Linked DNA regions of Homo sapiens: region 2 is linked to region 1. Evidence: promoter capture Hi-C in 16 types of primary human blood cells and fetal thymus (Javierre and others, 2016). All regions are on one chromosome and are shown on one strand. The core of a region is centred on a gene start or on the middle of the fragment in contact, and the rest is flanking DNA. Distances in the headings are between cores, read along the strand shown. Region 1 overlaps PHF21A (PHD finger protein 21A). Region 2 holds the start of SLC35C1 (solute carrier family 35 member C1).

Evidence for each region. Contacts are between HindIII fragments. The CHiCAGO score rates a contact against its expected background, and 5 or more counts as called.
Region 2: the fragment with the promoter of SLC35C1 here is called in contact with a fragment that was not itself captured in region 1 in 1 of 17 cell types (total B cells); the score reaches 5.2 in total B cells.

Annotation. Positions count from the first base shown.
Region 1 is chr11:46,001,059-46,007,250 of GRCh38, forward strand. The region is part of intron 6 of PHF21A (PHD finger protein 21A); the gene reads right to left. Among named protein-coding and RNA genes, the nearest start is that of LARGE2, 81 kb to the left of the region's middle. RefSeq lists an enhancer at 1-285. The HindIII fragment of the contact is 1,841 bases long and covers 2,855-4,695 here.
Region 2 is chr11:45,800,207-45,806,398 of GRCh38, forward strand. It overlaps SLC35C1 (solute carrier family 35 member C1), which reads left to right and starts at 4,943. Exons shown (of 2, transcript NM_018389.5): 1 at 4,943-6,130. The coding sequence starts at 5,596. RefSeq lists an enhancer at 3,738-3,897 and silencers at 4,068-4,237, 4,968-5,197. The HindIII fragment of the contact is 25,730 bases long and covers 1-6,192 here.

The DNA of each region.
Region 1 (6,192 bases), core at 2,525-5,024:
TAATGCTACAGCAATAGCTCAACATATCTTAACCATAAAATCAGACATTTTGCTAACACAACTGAAATAATTCACTGGAACTTACTAACATAGCTGCTTCAGAAGCAGAAACATCACAGAAGTCTAAGAAGAAAAACTTAAAGCCATGTATGGTTCTGGTAGAGAATCTGAAGGGAATGTGGAAACTGAAAAACCATCAAGGTTAAGTCAAAGGTTCTGTGACCACCAGGGGGGCTGGAAATGGGGCTCTAAGATGTTCTGTCACCAGGTCCATTGACAGCACACTAGATATCACTGTTATCAACAAATTTCTATTCCGATAAAGTATTGCCATGTACTTAGCCAATGCACCTGTAGATTCTAATGAGATAAGCCCACATTGATATAACCTAGGAAATAAATAACAAGACTAACAATAGAAGCTCCAGTTGGTGTCTCCGTCACATGCACCACAGCATCAACAGACCACCTAATAACATAGGGAGGAAAACAAAAACACTGCTAGCTAACACTGAATTTTTGTATAAGAAAAGAACAGGAAAAGGATTAACTACATTCTTTTCCCCCATGCTTACATTTTTAAAATTCCATTAGTATCTTGCCAGATTTTCAAGAGAAAGGCTGTGTGCATCAGAGTTAACTGGTATGATAGGCCATGGGAGAATAAAACCAATAAGAAACCTTTCTGTTCTGCACTTCACAGGGCTGTCACTCGTACTAGAAAAACGTCACTTTGAAGCCCTGTTTGCATTCCATTTTTAACTAGAGGGAAGAGGATGGAGGTCTTTGGTTTCTATGACAACCCAGATGGGCCATAATACAAGATACTTACAAATGTTCAATTGCAGGGATGCCAAATCAAATTAAGGCAGAGTTAGCACTACTTCATAAAAACTAGATGGGGAGAAAACAAAATACTTATGGCAAGACGATGCCATTTCTAGAAGTGGTTCGGAAGGATTTCATGAGAAAATATAAAGAAAAGAGTGACTATTTTTAGTGAAAACAAAACAGTAAAACTAATATATAAAAATAAAGCTCCAATTTACATAAGTAAATGCTTTCATTAAAATTTAGACTACTGAAAAATTACTACTTCACTTAATGTTTTTAAACACTCCCTTACAAATAACATGATATTCATTAGTGATTTACATCATTATAATCTGGCACACTGGGCTAGGTTTTAATGGTGGGTTGAGCTCCTTTGGGCAACTTTTTCTTTTGCTCCATCCTCACCATTTGTTACTATATTTGGCCTTCATAACTAGAATGCATAGTCCTCAAAATATTTGTGGAATGGCTAATGCTTCAGAAATAAACTAATTTGTAACTTTACTACAATTTGTAAAATTTATTAACTTTCCAATAATAACCTACCATATCTCTTTCCATTTATAAATGATGATTTATTTGAGAACCACCCTCAGCAAATACTTCTGGGCTTTTGAAAGCACTATTTGGGGGAAAAAAAAAGGAATTCACACATGGCCTTTTTCATTTAAGGGCAGAAAGTGCTGTATATTCAAACTTCATAAGGGAACTTATTTACGTCACAGATATTACCATTAGATAAAGGGGATGTCATATACACCTTTAAGGGATATAATGAAGAACTTTGGACTCTGTCCCCGTAAAATGTCCTATGTGTGCAAACATATAAAACAATTTTGCACACATTTCAGGGAATTTAGAGGCACCCCCTCAAACCCCTCCACAGAACTAGTTTTATCTTTATTCAAAAGACCCTTCTTCCCCAAGGCCGAAATTTGTAATGAAAAAAAAAGTCTCTAGAACAAAGCAAAACAAAAAAACACCCAATGTATTTAACATTAAGTAGATCATTGATACCTTTTTACTTAAAACACAGCTCAAATTAAATGAATTCAAATAAAATGAATTAATTGGATAAATATCTGCTACAGAAATTTTTCTAAAGATTGAATACTATGATTTCTAACTGTTTTGGATTTGCAAAATCAGGTAAGTTTCTGTGACTTTCTCTTCTCCCCCAAATAGCACAAACCCATTTAAAATTATCTTGAGACATTCTGAGACTATAAAAACAGGAGTAGAATAATTTCCTCAATAGAATCTTTTTAAAGCTCAGATTATTTCTTGCTTTGAAAAGAAAATCTGTATATGAGAGTGCCACTAAAAAAAGTCCTAAAAACTTTGTGCATATAGTGTATGGAGGAAAGAGCTTGGGTTAAAGGCTAACATTCAAAAAAAAAAAAAAATGCCAAGTTTTCTTTTCACACCATCTATGTGTCTAGTCATCACTCAGACTCTCTTCGGTGTTAATACTGTTACAAAATGAGGATAATACCTATCCTCTCCCCCACTGCTAAAAGAAAAAAATATTTTATAAAACTAAAGAGTCATAAAATATTCAATATTCATAGTACTAATGACACTAAAACAAGAAATTGATAGCTTAAAAATGCTGATGAACTTGATTTTTAAAACACCATAAAGCTGCCCTGCTGCCCATAATGATGATGACATTTTCACGAAGGGCAGAGTGAGAAAACGCTACAATTCTCACTAGGATGATGACTAGTACTTATAGAAGATTAAAAATAAGAATGATATATTATGTAGAAGAGAAGTAAAGATGGAAGTATGAGTATGGCTCAGCACACTACAGAGCACATGAATTTTAATTTGAAAAGTACTGGCAAGGCCTTGCATGCAGGCCCACACAAGTGCTTTTAAAAGCTTCATTACACTCTGCAGACATTTGCCCTTCATCAATTGCTTCCTATGCCAGGATTTCCTTTTTGAGTGTTGCAACCTAATATTCTTCACCCAGGCAACCACAGCCTATTTTGGAAAGGTTCCCTATTTCAGAAGCTTCAGTGCTGTTTCCATTTGGAAATACATCTTTATGAAAATATGTATCATCCTCAGAACAAAAATGCTTCAATATATTAAGTTTCAGCTGTAAGTGATATTTTTAGAAAAGTGGTAATTTCAGAATCTCTGCTTCAAAATTACAGAGTTGGTTTTTTTAAACGGAGTCACAAAGTAGAAAATTAAAAAGATATACCAATGAATAAAATCCTGTCTCCCCTTTTTCTTATCCCATTTCATTTAAAAATGTTTAAATTTATTTTCCATAGATTCTTAAAATCATTGAATTATGCATACTGGTAAGAAATTTCATCCAATGTTCATCTTCATAAAAACCAAATAACTCAATGCAAAAGAGCTCTTAACAGTCAATTTTCTAAGAAATGGTCTGACATCACAGATGGTGTTTTCTATATAACAAAGTGAATCAATTTGAGATGTCTTGGACACTGTAAAAAACTTGTACTTTTGACCAAAGGAAATGGATTTCACTTTTAATAGATAAGAAATAAGAGACACTGGGGAGTAGGGAAGGGGTAGAGGAGAGAAGGAAGTCCTTGTTCTAAGATTATATTAAAAGCTACTTAAAACATGTAAGTGACAATATTTCATAAACTGAAATATTTTATCAGTAGCTATGACAGAATATTCTCTATTCTTTTCTTCAACATAAAAGTTTTAAAGAACTGTGCTCATTTGACCTCTTATCAAACAAAAACTCACTTTTCTTCATATTGGTTTGCATAGCACAGACTATTACTTTTTCATAGCACTTAACTTTTACTGTGGATGAGGGCTGTATCTGCCAGGCCTAGAATGCTTTCCATTGAACTGTCTCCTCAAGACTAAAGGACTCATCATCTAAAAGATGTCTTTGTAAAATACAGTTTATGCCTCCTGAAAATACCATCTCTCCCTCTCTCCCATTCACTACACACATACTTACATGTGTTCGAAATTTATTCCCCTTCTTTATCATGGCTACCCTCAAGAAAAAACACAGGGAAACAGATAAGCACTACACAACAAAGTTTACTTTTTCCCTTTACAATAATATTTGTCTCTTACTGCAAATGTCTCTGAATATGGAAAATGAGATTATGCAGTTAAATTTTAACACATGCATGTATACACCCAACTAATACAGCAGTCCCCCACATCAGTAATTTCACTTTCTGCAGGCTCAGTTACCAAGAGCAACCGCAGTCCAAAAATTCAGGTTGAGCATCTTTAATCTGAAAAATCTGAAATCCAAAATGCTCCAAAATCCAAAACTTTTTGAGCACTGACGTGATGCCACAACTGGAAAACTTCACACCTGACCTCAAGTGATAGATCATAGTCAACATGCAGTCAAAACTTTGTTTCATGTACAAAATGATGTAAAATATTGTATAAAATTTATACAAATTTATGCTTGGGACCAGAAGTGTTTCAGATTTTGAGATTTTTCAGACTGTAGAATATTTGCACAATATATTAACGCCTTGTATATACCAAATAATCTTAGGCAGTTGCTTTTTCTGGTTGAAGGTTTCAAGATAATAAGAAAAGCAAAAACCTCATTTGCAATATTAACTTAATTAATGGGCACCAAATGTTCAGACCTTCCTGTTCTGACTTATAAAACAGGTTATTTTGACTCCATTAGCAAATGCCCCTGATTATTCTCAGCTTTTTATTACATACTAGGTAAATGAAACTATCAACGATCCTTTTACTAAGAAATGTGAACTGCCTTATACTGGAATAGTTAAATAAACATTAGGGGAACCATCAGCACCAACTACTTACTCCCTATGAGCAATGAATAAAAGAATAATATTTGTAGCACAATTAAGCTTCCATAGCTCAAGACGGATCATCCCACCAATTCTGAAACAATTTACTCTAGCTGTATGAATCTGATCATAAAGAAAAAAGAAACACTTCTAATGAAATGTGGAAATGCTTTTTTTGCATGTGAATCGTATTCATTTCTTTAAAAAACTTCAACTTCAGAACTCTCAAGAACAGTAAGAAAAATAAAACATACAATTTTAAAAGTTTATTTGGAGCCTACAAATGCCTGTGGAAAAGCACAATTTTAAACTTTGAAAATGGGCTGGTCTAATATAAAACAGTCTTTGTAGATAAAAAATAATTCAAATTCAGACAAGAGAGAATTAAAGAATTAGGATGTTCACTGTTATTTTACATTTACGATTAAAGAACCAGATTAACTGACAAGTAGATCACTGTTGACATAGTTCCTATAAATAAGAGCCAAATGATTTTAAAATTAAATGTTATAAACTTCATGCTTTAAAAAATGTGTACTCCCAATTTTCATTTGTTTTCCAATGCTTCCAGAAGCCCAAACAAGAATTATTTTAATAGGGCAAAAAACCATGAGAAATCAGTAAATTCTTAATCTTTCGGTTGTATATACAATTAGGGCAAAGGCTAAGTCAAATCCAGAATTAATAAGCACCTAACGAAATATTGCAACTTGTTATAGTTCTTTAGTTTGAATAAATCTGCCCTCAGTGTTCTATCTTCCTAAACTTTCTGAATAACCTCCACAAATCACGCTATATAAATAACAAGGAGTCTAAAAGTTTACTGCCACATTCACTCTCTAAAGATACTAAAATCAGTTCATCTACACAGGCAGCTGTCTGCCTGAGCTAGAGGATGAAGTTATGCCTTAATGAACTAACGCCATCTAGTGGGATCAGTGAGATTTCAGCTGAAACTAGTTTACAACAGGTTACTACAATCTATTCAGCTGGTCAAATGTCTTATTTAAAAAGATACACTTGTATTAAGTATTGAACTGTCTTAAACGCCTATTAGAATGTGATATACTTGCCTACAATAAAAATGGCACAAAAATATTTTAAGACCAACAACCCTCCCTTGGAATAATATTTCTATTCTTTCCTTCAAAGGCACAAAATACAAATCAACAGGTACTAACAATATGTATTTTCAAAGATCTCAGAAAATGCAAAGTCAAAGTCAGAACAACAGTCAGTAAAATTTAAAGATAACAATAACAAGAGCTATTATTTACTTATTAAGTGCCTAGCATATGCCACACACTTCACAGTTTTAATCTTTAGAGCGTTCCTGCAAGCTCGTTTTACAGGTGATTTCCCATTACAAAAACACTTAAATATAGAGTGACTAACTTAAAAAGTGATCTTTCTTCCCTCCAACCAACCATAACGTGACGAGACATCTATCAACACTAGCTCACTGCATACCTACCATGTGTTCAAAAACATGCAAAGTGATAGTGAGGTTCTAAGAGATGAGAAAAGGGCCCCCTGTCTTTTCAAGGAATCCAGG
Region 2 (6,192 bases), core at 3,693-6,192, 200 kb before region 1:
TACATGTATATAATGTATAATGATTAAATCAGGGTAATTGGGATACCCATTACCTCAAACATTTATCTTTTGTGTTAGGAGCATTACAGTTCTTCTCTTCTAGCTATTTTGAAATATACAATAAGTTATTGTTAACTATAATTCTTCTACTGTACTATCAAATACTAGAACTTAGTCCTTCTATCTAAAACTGTATTTTCGTACCCATTAACCAACTTCTGTCCATTCCTCCATTTTTATAAATAAAGTTTTATTGAAATGCAGCTGTATCCATTTGTTTACAATACTACAATAGCAGTGTTGAGTACTTTCGACAGAGACTATATGGCCCACAGAATCTGAAACACTTACTCTCTGGCCTTTTACAAAAAAAATTTGCCAACTCCTGAAATAGATGATTGGTAGCATCTGCCACAAGTACTAGAAAAGGAAGACATAATTTTTTTCTGGAAATAGCTTATTATTTTCAAAAGAGCATTCCAGTAATAATGAGGAAAAAAAAGATTTTTGCTCTGCTTACATGTATTTTGTAGTTTAGTGTTAATTTTTACTTTGAATTATATGTGGGATGAATGAGAAGCCTTATAAACTTCAGGGATTAGGGTCAATACGGTTCTTAAATTGGCCCTGATTTCCAGGCATTCCTACCCATGGTCTGACTTCCATTCATTCCACAACGAGGCACTAGGCACCTACTGTGGCAGGCATTGTGCTAGGTCCTGGATAAGGACAGGATGGACAGACGGATGGATGGATGGTTGGATGGATGAACAGTTGGATGGATGGATGGATGGATGGATGGATGGATGGATGGATGGATGGGAAACTGTGAGAGATAAAGCAAAAGAGAGAGAGAGGAACAGAGAAATTAGACTAAGCAATTTCATGCCTTCTCAATTTTGCCTAGAAAATATGTGTGTGAGGAGGAAATGCCATTCCAGTAGGCATGTGGGTAAAGGCCTTGTTGCTGTAGCAAAGAGACCCCTTTAGAACTGTGTAGGTATGCAGGAACATAAGTTGATTTCCCACAGTCCACAGTGGCAGGTATCTCTGCTCCACAGAATCAGGGACCTCGGCTTTTTCCATCACATTCCTCCACAGCCTCTAAGACGTTGTCCTTGTCCTCATGGTCAAGACTGGCTTATAGATGCATTTGGTTTCCAGGTTATGGGAAGAGGAAGAAAAAGCATGGAGGAACACACTCCTAAAGTTTTAAAGACCTAGAAAGTAGCATATCTCACGTGTTGCTATAGACTGGAGGTATCCCTCCAAAATTTATATACTCCAATGGACCCCTAAGCCCCAATATGATGGTATTTGGGGATGGGTCTTTGGAAGGTAATTAGGTCATGAGAGTGGAGCCCTCATGGTGGGATTAGTGCTCTTATAAGAAAAGACATGAGATCCTCCCCCCACTCCACCCCCATCTATGTGCCAGGTGAAGACAGAAGGAGAAAGCAGCCTTCTACAAGCTGGAAGCAGCCCCTTGCCAGACACCAGATCCACCTGGGCCTTGATCTTGGACCTCCCAGCCTCCAGACTGTGAGAAATAAATGCTTACTGTTTAAGCTGCTCAATCTATGGTATTTTTGTTATAGCAGGCTGAACTCACCAAGACACTTCCCTTCACCATCCACTAAGTCACATGGTTCATCTACTTAGAAGGAAGGCTGGGAAATGTAGTCTTTGGCTGGGCAACCATAAGACTAGCTACAATCCAATTATTTTGGATGAATGGGGGAGTGAATTTTGGTAGACAACTAGGAGTGTCTATCACATAGGGTAGGCTCATGAGTCCTTGTTGAACTCAGAGTGAGACAGTCAACATCTGTGTGTTCCCAGAAGTTCTCAAGCCGCACAGGTACAGATCCACTGACCCCTGAACCTGGGAAGTTAGTTCTGTTCACTGTGACTGGCAGAAATAATTTCCTGCTGACATTATTAGTGGCTCCCAGCCAAGGCAAGAAAATGAGACTACACCCATAAAGGAACTATTACAGCCCTTCAGCTGCCACGTTGATGATCTTATGCTCTACCTCACACCAAATTCACACCCTGGATAATCACTGTTGGCAAGACCTAAAATTTCACCCTTTGTGGATGGTTTAAACAATTAACATTCCTTAAAGAAAATTCAAAAGCAAACCATTTATGCAAGGTACACAATTCCCAGGGGCCTTAGACCCCCTAAGAAACATCCCCACCCCTCCTTTCCCTCATAAGGGATAAAATGATTAGAATCCAGGAAACTTGCTGTACTGGCCTGTTAACAACCTTAATCCAAGGGAGTGACACTAATGACAGAATTTCAGGTATGATGTGAGAGATTGGAGACAGGGGTATACTTTGGCCTCCATAGAGAGCCCACACTGTCCCCCACACACGCAGCACTGACTGCCCCTGGGCCTCTCTCAGCGAAGTGCATCTGGCCTATATACAAGATATATCTCTTCCCTCCAGTTCAAGGTGGCAGCAGTCATCAGACAAGTTCCTGCTAATGTGCTAAGGAGAAGGCCCTTCCAGATCACCAGGGCCTCTCAGGGACAAGTTTGCCCTGTCTGTCACTAAATTGTTTGTCATGGTGAACTCTCGGGCATAAGAGAGGAGAGACTGGAACAGATACGAATTGCTCTTAATGAACCAAAACCCACAGCTTCAAAGGAAAATCCCAGAGGTAGACTCTCCAGGTGGGGTTGAGGAGACCAGCTCAGTCCCTCTTGAGTCTTTCTTTCCCCAAAGGGATATTTTAGTTCCAAAAGTGACAAGGTAACCAGATGGTATCCTCCAGGTGGAGAACAGCCCACAACTAGGAAGCAGAGTCTCATTCCTTGAGGAGGAAGAGGGGAGTGCTAGTACCCGGGGCTAGTGGAAGAGGGTAGGGTGTGGGCCCGGCTCGTTGTGGGGCAGCTGTTTACTTCACTGCAGCCTGCAGCCCTCCCATTTCCCTACAGCCCACCCAGGGCTGCGCTCAGCTCCAGTGAAGGTTTGTGCAGTTAGGATCTGAGAGTTTAAGCGTACTATATAGGTTTTACCTTTTTATTCTGGAAATTTGCAAATGTACACAAAAGTAAGGAAACTCTTATAATGGGTCCTTGTGTATCTACGCCTAGCTACAACTATCAATGGCTTATCTTATTTAATCTATCAACCTTTTAAAAAAAATCTTTTTGAGGTCAGGCACGGTGGCTCACGCTTGTAATCCCAGCACTTTGGGAGGCCGAGGCCGGCGGATCACCTGAGGTCAGGAGTTAGAGAACAGCCTGGCCAACACGGCGAAACCCGGTCTCTACTAAAAATACAAAAAATAACCGGGCGTGGTGGTGGACGCCTGTAATTCCAGCTATTCGGGAGGCTGAGGCAGGAGAATCGCTTGAACCCGGGAGACGGAGGTTGCAGTGAGCTGAAATAGCACCACTGCACTCCAGCCTGGGCGACGGAGCGAGACTCCGTCCCAAAAAGAATAAATAAATAAAAATAAAAAATATTTTTGGTAAGTATTCTTAGTATTTTAAAACAAATCCCAGCCATGACATCATCTTACCCGTTAATTAAATGGCACTAATTAAATGGTGCTTGAAATATTACAAACATCTATGTTCGACCATACCACCTAGAGTTCTGGGCAAGAAGGTTGGGACCCACAGGTCAAGCCTAGCCCCTTAGTTTTACCATGAAGATAACTCAGGCCGTCGGAGAAAGTGGCCTGCCCAACGCAGGTGCTAGAGCGCGAACCAAGAGAAGTCGATCCTCCTGGTCTCCCCGGCTGCCTGGTGAGTGGCAGACCACAGGCTAGACTTCCCAGGCCCCGGCCCTGGAAGGGGCGGGGAACCCTCCCCCTCACTGCCAGCTGGAAGAATCCGAGCGGTCCCCGCACGCACTTCTGGAAGTGCAAGCCGGTAGCGCGGCGGGCCAGGGATACAGCCAAGTCCCGGGACGTGCCAGCTGCGGTAACTGAAGCCGGGTCCCGGGCGGGCGGGGGTACCAGGGACAGGAGTAGCCTTGGAAAGAGGAGAGGGCCTCCTCCCACGACCGTCCGGATCACCGCCTCTCCGCCGGCACCCCCGGGGCCCATGCCGCGAACAGGCCGGCGAGGCTGGCAAGGTGCCCGGGCCCGGGGCGGAAAGCAGGAAGTCGATCCCGCGGGCGCGGCCCAGGGTGCGGCGCTGCAGATGCAGCACGGGGTCGCGGGGCGGGCGCCCAGTGCACCGGAGGAGGTGAGCGCCAGGTCGCCTTCGCGGCCCGGGGACACAGGCAGGGACGCGGGAGCTGATGCGGCTGGACCGGCCGGGGAAACAGTATTTTCTGGAAGGGGTAAGAGATGCTGTCTTGAGCCTTTGGAATCTCGGATCCGGGCCGCCCAGAGGACCTCGACAGGAGCACAGGGAGGACAAACTGAAGTCCGAGAGAGGCGGCGTGGCCTCCGGCCTCGGGGAGCGCTGCCGGGGGTCTCGGGCTTGGGAGAGGGCCTGGGGGCGGTGAAAATGGGGGGAAAGGAGGGGACCACAACATTGTTATGGAAGAGTGAGCTCGGATTGGCAGAGGGACGCGGGGCTGCAACGCGAGTCTCCGGAGGTGGAGGGGTCCAGGCTGATGTAGCGCCGCCCGGGTCCTGGGTCGGGGTTCCGGGAAGTGGACCTGCGAGCCAAGCCTAGCCAAGTCGGGGGACGGAGGCTCCGGGGCGGACGGAGCTGAGGGTGGGCAGGCGAGGTTGATGGAGCCCTTCCAGGAAGCAGGGCGAGGCTCAAGCACCCAGAAAAACCTGTGGCTGCCGAGGTCCCCCGCCAGCAGCGGGCAGCGGAGCGCAGGGGCGGGGCTGGGGACTGGCGAACTCCGCCTCTCTGGGGCTGTCGCTTTAAGGGCAAGGCGGGGCGTGCGGGCCCTTTAAGGCCACGTGGGGGCGTGTCAGGAAGTGAGTCCAGGGCCCGCCTCCCGGGGAGTCGGCCTCGGATGTCCGGAGGCTCCTGGGCTGAGCCGGCGACAGAGCCCGGGAAGGCAGCGAGACGTGGGCGCCGGCCCAGCCCCCTCCCGCGTCCTTCAGCCCCAAGCCCCGAGCCCCTCTGACCCTTCCGCAGCCCTCCCTCCAGCCGCGCCCGGCCTCCGGCAGCTCCCTGTACGCCTCCCTCCCCCTGCCCGCCCCTCCCTCCCACAGCCGCCCATGACGCCCTCTCGGCACCTCTTCCCACTCTGCCACGCGTCCTTTTCCTGCACCTTCGCCCCGCGTACCTACTCCTGCCCCGCCCTGCCATTCCTCTCCCCTCCCTTCTCTCTGCGACCCCTCCCTGTTAGGCCCCAGCCTCTTCTCCCCTCACAGGTCTTCTCTGTCCTGGCCTCACCGCCTTATCCTATTCCTCTCCCTTGCCCTGTGTCTTGTCTCAGAGCCCCCTCGGGGTGGGAGTAGGTTGTGGAGCAGCACAACTGGGCTCACCCCAAAGCAGAACTTCTCAATCCATGAGGACAATGGGGAGGCCTTTAGGCCAGCCCACATGTGACAATGGAGGGCTGCGGCTTCCTTGCGGAGAGCACAAGTGAGCTCACTGCCCTGGACTCCAGGGAATCAGAGTTCTGGCCGCGGGGTGACCCAGCTCCTCTGCTACCATGAATAGGGCCCCTCTGAAGCGGTCCAGGATCCTGCACATGGCGCTGACCGGGGCCTCAGACCCCTCTGCAGAGGCAGAGGCCAACGGGGAGAAGCCCTTTCTGCTGCGGGCATTGCAGATCGCGCTGGTGGTCTCCCTCTACTGGGTCACCTCCATCTCCATGGTGTTCCTTAATAAGTACCTGCTGGACAGCCCCTCCCTGCGGCTGGACACCCCCATCTTCGTCACCTTCTACCAGTGCCTGGTGACCACGCTGCTGTGCAAAGGCCTCAGCGCTCTGGCCGCCTGCTGCCCTGGTGCCGTGGACTTCCCCAGCTTGCGCCTGGACCTCAGGGTGGCCCGCAGCGTCCTGCCCCTGTCGGTGGTCTTCATCGGCATGATCACCTTCAATAACCTCTGCCTCAAGTACGTCGGTGTGGCCTTCTACAATGTGGGCCGCTCACTCACCACCGTCTTCAACGTGCTGCTCTCCTACCTGCTGCTCAAGCAGACCACCTCCTTCTATGCCCTGCTCACCTGCGGTATCATCATCGGTGAGTGGCAGCTGGGGCCACGGGGGATAGAGTGGTCATGGGGACTGAAGCAGTGAAGAACA